2 separate regions of the Homo sapiens genome follow, and region 2 is linked to region 1. The links are contacts of gene promoters, found by promoter capture Hi-C in blood cells and fetal thymus (Javierre and others, 2016). All regions are on one chromosome and are shown on one strand. Each heading gives the region's core, a stretch centred on a gene start or on the middle of the fragment in contact. The rest is flanking DNA. Distances are from core to core; before and after follow the strand shown.

The links. The method cuts DNA at HindIII sites, captures the fragments that hold promoters and counts their contacts. A CHiCAGO score of 5 or more calls a contact.
Region 2: a contact is called between a fragment that was not itself captured here and the fragment with the promoter of C9orf153 in region 1, in 2 of 17 cell types (megakaryocytes and M2 macrophages). The highest score is 5.3, in megakaryocytes.

What each region holds. Positions count from the first base shown.
Region 1 is chr9:86,258,407-86,261,801 of GRCh38, forward strand. It overlaps C9orf153 (chromosome 9 open reading frame 153), which reads right to left and starts at 1,251. Exons shown (of 4, transcript NM_001276366.4): 1 at 1,144-1,251. It also overlaps the pseudogene RN7SKP264. The HindIII fragment of the contact is 3,437 bases long and covers 1-2,049 here.
Region 2 is chr9:86,013,083-86,016,367 of GRCh38, forward strand. It overlaps NAA35 (N-alpha-acetyltransferase 35, NatC auxiliary subunit), which reads left to right. Exons shown (of 23, transcript NM_024635.4): 16 at 1-62; 17 at 637-815. Among named protein-coding and RNA genes, the nearest start is that of NAA35, 74 kb to the left of the region's middle. The HindIII fragment of the contact is 3,436 bases long and covers 316-3,285 here.

The sequences.
Region 1 (3,395 bases), core at 1-2,500:
TTGAAGTAATTACTTTTAGAGAGCTTGTTTGGAGGTTCTAGCAGGGGAGTGCAGCTACTCATATACCCTTGCCCAAAGAACGGCCCTCCTCTGTTGGGGAAGGTTGTCCGCAGCGTCTGGAAGGACGCATGTGGACGGATGAGGGAGGAAGGAGACATCCACCTAGCCAGCCAGATCAGACAAATTAACCCTGGCCATCAGTGGGGTGACAGATGTTGCAGCCAGATCACCCTCACATCCGGAAATAATTGCTTTTAAAACGCAATATTTGAAAACCTGAATTTTCTTGGGTAAGCAACTATTATATTGCTAATTTAACGAAACTTTTTTTAAAAATATTAATATACTTAAATTTTAGAGCAATTTTAGAATTGGTTAGAAAGTACAATGTTCCCACAACCCCCCTTCTCTGCACCATACACACAGCTTTCCCCTTTTTTTTTTACTACTTATGTTTGTGTGGTACGTTTGTTATACTTGATGAGCCGGTATCAATGCATGGTTACTAACTAAAGCCCATACTTCACAGTTTACATTACGGTCCATTCTTGGTGTTGTGCATTCTATGAGATTTCACAATGTGCAATTACATATATCCACTTTGATAGTATCATACAGAGCAGTGTTTTTTTTTTTTCTTTGAGATAGGCTCTCATTCTGTCACCCCAGCTGGAGTGCAGTGGCGTGAACACAGGTCACTGCAGCCTCAACCTCCCAGGCTCAGGTGATCCTCCCATCAGCCTCCCAAGTGGCAGAGGAAAAACAAAGGACACTGGGTGTGAGGGAGAGGTGCAAAGTCAGGACCAAGCATCCATGGGAACACAGGGGAGGATGAAGGCACTGAGGTTGGGGAGAGAGAGCAGAGCTATCAGTGTTGAAGGCCGGAAAGGATGAGGGAGTCTGCAGGCTCGGCCCGATCAACTGGTTCCAGCTTCTGTGACCTGCCTGGAGGAAGATGAAACAGGCTCCTCATCCTTATTGGTAAAGATAAACCCAAATCCCATCTCACCTCCCAGCTCTGGTCTTCCCACCTTAGCCACTGCCCACCTCACTCCATCTCTCCTTGCCAAGCCTAGACTGGCTTAGTTTTCACTGCTCTGTGGTCTCACAGTGCCCCGTGGCTATGGCTGTAGATGCACTTACCACTTGTTTTACAGTTGTCTCTTCACGTGGTCATATCTGTCTTGAGTCTCTGCACTCCCAGGGCAGAGGCTGGGTCTCATTCATCCAGCAGCCCCAAGGCCCAGCCCCACTCCTAGCATGTGTCATTGCTTAGTGTTAAGTGACTGTCCATTGTGACATGTGGACATTCTCAAGGTCACATAAGCAGCTATATGATGCTAAGCGATGGGGAATTATCTTGCTGCTTGGTGGGGGGTGGGAGACGGTGGAGGATGATGGAAAAGCATTTTTAAAGAGTGAACATTGAGTAGCTGAGTAGCTACTTTTTTTTCTGCCTCAGCTTGTGGCTGGGACCCCGGGCGCACGCCACCACGCCTGGCTAATTTATGTATTTTTCTCTAGAGATGGGGTTTCGCCATGTTGCCCAGGCTGGCGTGAGTATAATTTTTTTTTTTTTTTGAGATGGAGTCTCACTCTGTCGCCCAGGCTGGAGTGCAGTGGCACGATCTCAGCTCACTGCAAGCTCCGCCTCCCGGGTTCACGCCATTCTCCTGCCTCAGCCTCTTGAGTAGCTGGGACTACAGGTGCCGTGAATGTAATTTTTAATCAGTCAAGTTTTTCCTTCTATAGACATGGGCAAAGTGCAAATAAGAAATTGAGAGAGATAATAGAAGGTACAGCTATGCTCTTTGCACCTGGCCAGATATGGGTAGAAGTGGACCAGGGGCTACCTGGCTGTGCAAATTCTCTCCATGAGCCATGCAGCCGTGCTCCAGACTCCATTCCCCACCCATGGGAGGTCCCTGTGGCAATCACTGAAAATTTTCCTGAAACAGCCATTTCCCCAGAATGCAATCTACTGGGCATTTAAATAGTCTGATTGAGTTAATAACTTGTGAACACCGTGGCAACATATCCATAACATGAAGCTTACCGTGTTAAGCCGTTTTAGGTACACAGTTCTGTGGCATTCAGTACATTCACATTGTTGTGCCACCTGCACTGCCTTCCATCTCCAGAGCTTTTTCATCTTTTCCACCTGAATCTGTGTCCATGAAATAAATTTCTCACCCCCTGTCCCCTGTCAATGGACACCTGGGTTGTTCCTACCTTTTGGCTATTGTGAATAATGCTGTTATGAACATGGATATACAAGAAAGTTAATAATTTTAAGCAGAATTTAATAAATACAGAAGATTCTTCCAATGAGAAAATATTTCAAAAGCCTGCCATTCAAAGGTGTTCTGCAGAGCAACAGCACTGGCTTCACTTGGGCCTTTGCTACTAATGCAGAATCTCAGGCTCTGCCCTGGACCTTTGTTACAGAATCTGCTTTTTTTTTTTTTTTGAGACAGTTTTGCTCTGTCACCCAGGCTGGAATGCAGTGGTGCCATCTCATGTCACTGCAACCTCCCCACCTCCCAGGTTCAAGTGATTCTCCTGCCTCAGCCTCCTGAGTAGCTGGGACTAGAGGCGCCCACCACTATGTCTGGCTAATTTTTGTGTATTTTTAGTAGAGATGGGGTTTCACCATGTTGGCCAGGCTGGTCTCGAACTCCTGACCTCAAGTGATCCACTCGCCTCAGCCTCCCAAAGTGCTGGATTACAGGCGTGAGCTACCTACTGCGCCCGGCCAAGAATCTGCTTTTTAACAAGACCCCCAGGTGACTTATTTGCACCTTAAAGTTTGAGGACTGCTTCAAGACATAGAATCCATGGAGAACAAAAAATGAGTACTTTATTTTTTATTCTTTTTTTTTTTGAGACAGGGTCTTGCTCTGTCATCCAGGCTGGAGTGCAGTAGTACGATCTTGGCTCACTGCAACCTCTACCTCCTGGGCTAAAGTGATCCTCTCACCTTGGTCTCCTGAGCAACGGGGACTACAGGCATGTACCACCATGACCAGCTAATTTTTGTATTTTTTGTAGAGACGGCGTTTTACCACGTTGCCCAGGCTGGTCTTGAACTCCTGGGATCAGGTGATCTGCCCACTTTTGCCTCCCAAAGTGCTGGGATTACAGGCTTGAGCCAACACACCTGGCCCAATAAATGGGCACTTCATCATGAAAAGTTTCGGAATCACTAGCTAGTGGAAGTAAAAGCAGTAACCCATCAAGGCCCTCAAAGTAGGCTAGTTTTAAGCTGAGTACCGCTGGTACAGAGCCCTTGCCCCGCTAAAGGTTGGTGTGAAATGAAGCCTTCCCTGAACACTGCACAGCAGCAAGGGAGGATGGGAGTCCACAGTGATGTAACCACCACATGGCTCTGTATT
Region 2 (3,285 bases), core at 784-3,283, 240 kb before region 1:
GGGCTCGACAGAGAGATAAGCTTGGTCATATTCTTGAGGAATTTGCCACCTTGCAGGATGAGGTAAGAGCCAGGTTCCCCTCTCTTCTAAAATTAAATGATGCACACACTTTGTCCAGATTTTTAAAAACAATAATTCAGAACAATATTTTGACTAATTTTTCAACATGATCCACTTTTCACTTAAAATATAACAGTTTCTTACACCAACGTTTACAAAATGAAACAGAACAATAATCCAAACTGATAGATATCTTAAATATTTCTTTGATAATAGGAATAAATTATGAAATATGTATAAAATGATAGTTTTACAAGCTTACATTATAAAAAATATTAATACATTAATTTTAAAGTTAATTTGTGTGCAGCAGCAATATTGATAAGACCTGAAGTGTATTTGTATTTTTGTCCTTTAAAATTGATTTGGTTTAAGGCATGTTTAGGTAAATGTTAACCATTGTGAAATGAGAACTTCAAATGTAAACCTAACTAAAAATGCATTTAAAAATGTTTCTTTGGGTGGTCAGATTTAAATTTTCTGCTCATATTCTTTTTAGCTGTACGTTTTTTTAAAGTTCTGTCATTACCTTAAGAAAACAAAACGAACACAGTTTATGACATTTTATTTTAATAGGCAGAGAAGGTTGATGCAGCGCTTCACACCATGCTGTTGAAACAGGAACCCCAAAGGCAACATTTGGCCTGTTTAGGTACCTGGGTCCTTTACCATAACCTTCGCATTATGATACAGTACCTTCTAAGTGGCTTTGAATTGGAACTCTACAGTATGCACGAGTACTATTACATATATTGGTAAGAGCACAGTTTGAGTTAAAATTGGTGGTGGGTGCAATGGATAAGATCTGAGAATTCAGAGTTAATTTCAGGGTACTTTTTCATTTAGTATATTTTATCTTTAGTTGTGGGACAGTTGGAAAAATTTGAAAATTAGAGCTAGATCATCTTGAATATCTTTAAGTGCTATAATATTGCATGAGTGTATTTTTCCAAATGTTTATGTAAAAATTAACAAAAAATGACTCCAAAGTAAATGGATTAATTGAAGATCATTTATTTGCTCCTATGGAGAAAAATTAACACATTTTGCCCTGAATTTGGTGGCACTAGCTGTGGATGTACTTGACAGTTAAACATCAAATTGGAATGAGGTCTGTCTTCTTGGAAGAAATCATGACCAAGGTGATCACTGGGAGCATAACTGTTTCAAACCGTGGTGCTGAGGATTCACTTCAGGAGCTTTGGAGTTGATAAAAGATGATCTTCGGCAGAGTAGTTCTTCCCTTTCACTTGCGGACAAAATAAACCTAGTAAGAGGATGTTTGGAAAAGAGGATGTTTGAGCATATTTTAGGCATGTAAAAGCTGTCATAGAAAGAAAATAAGATTGAGTGTTAATGAATTCAGTTATTTTGAATTTTTTTCTCAGTCTGGCACATAATTTTAAACTAATGACCTGTGTTACTCATCACAAACACTCAGGTTTAGTGTATTAGACTTTAATAGAGTTCAACTTTTAAACTTGTTTAAATTTTACCTAGTAATTAAGTTATTCTGTATTCTCTGAAGTCACTGCTGTGGGAGGGAAAGTAATTCTCTTCCATGCTGTTGATGTAGATTTTGTTATGAGCAGTGAAGGCTTTTGACAGACAACTCTTGCCTGTGAAAACTGAATTTGAGCATCAACTATAGCAGTATGAGAATAATTTTCCTTGCTATATATTCTTCAACATTTATATAGATAATACCAAATAATCCTTACTAACAGGTATTTATATAGCTACTTTGGATACTACATTTTGTTATTCATAGTAGACAATTCTGGTTTTGTTTTCGTTTCTGTTTTTTGAGGTGGGGTCTTGCCATGTTGCCCGGGTTGGTCCTGAACTCTTGGGTTGTCAGTCTTCCCACCTCAGCCTCTCAAGTAGGTGGGACTACAGATGTGCACCACTGCACCTGGCTACTTTTGTTCCTTTTTATAGGGGAACATGCTCAGGTTCTTTTGTGGCTTGAAGCAGCTAATGGGACCTTTGTTCTTGATTTCTCAGATCAAAATATTATTTTTATATGCTTTTTTGCACAGAGAATTGGGATCTTAATTGAGCAAATAAATGAGACGCAGATAAATACTCCATTACACATTTGTCTATATACATAAGTAGATTTGTTTCTTTTCTTGTTAAAAGAACTTTAGTCTGCCCATAAATACCCTTGTGGTCTTTTCATAATTGGTTTTGAACTGCTTTTTAATTTCAAAATTACAGATTGGGCTCCTGCATTTCCCCGAGATAACCTTTAGTTGTTTTTCATGCATACGGTCCCTGAAGCATGTGGACTCTTTAAATCATCAGCAAAAACAGTGATTCTTAAACTTTAACATGCATCATAATCACTTGGAAAGTGCATTAATACACAAATTTTTGGGCTAAGTTCCTAGAATTCCTGACCTGTTAGGTCTAGGGTGAGACCGAATAATTTGCATTTCTAACTGGTTCTCAGGTGAACTGCTGCTGGCCCAGAGATGACAGTTTGAGAACCATTGGTATAGAATATCAGCACTCTCTTAGACATAAATGTATATTAATTTTGATAAAGCACTTAATAAAAGATCATTGAGGTACCTGATATTTGAGAAGAAAAGGCTGCATCTTAGTTGTCCCCTTCACTCATGTGTCCTTAGGTTAGATAAACAGAAGGTAGAAGACATCATCAGTTGCCTATAGAAATCCTTCACTTGAATTAAGATATATGAGTTGTTATGGACTCTCACATTTTGTAGGGTGGCAGGGAACAAAATTCAGTTATATGGTATAAAAGGGTACTATAGTAAATGTTTTTCTTAAATTCAGGGCCAGGAATTGTTTACTCTCCATATGAAATTATAGGCCTTATTATGTTATGAAATGCATATATATTTTTATATATATATATATCTCGTAGATTTGAAGACTTTTCTGGCTTAGCAGTGTTAAAGTTCTGAAAAATTAGTGTCTGGTAGAGAATGTTCTGTTTTATATTTCATTTATTAAATAAACTCAAGTAAATTGTAAATGTGAATGTTCTTAATTTTTAAGAATGATTTTATATAATGCCGATAATTTTTTATCTTTTTCTGATTTTATTTGCTTTGTGATTAAAAGAAAATATTTATAGACTGAACTGAACTGTGTTCTGATATAATAAAAACTTAATGGGCATTCATTTGATTTGCATATGTACATGTATAATTATCAAGAAATCTTCTGGAAAGTTGTAAAATGTAGAAA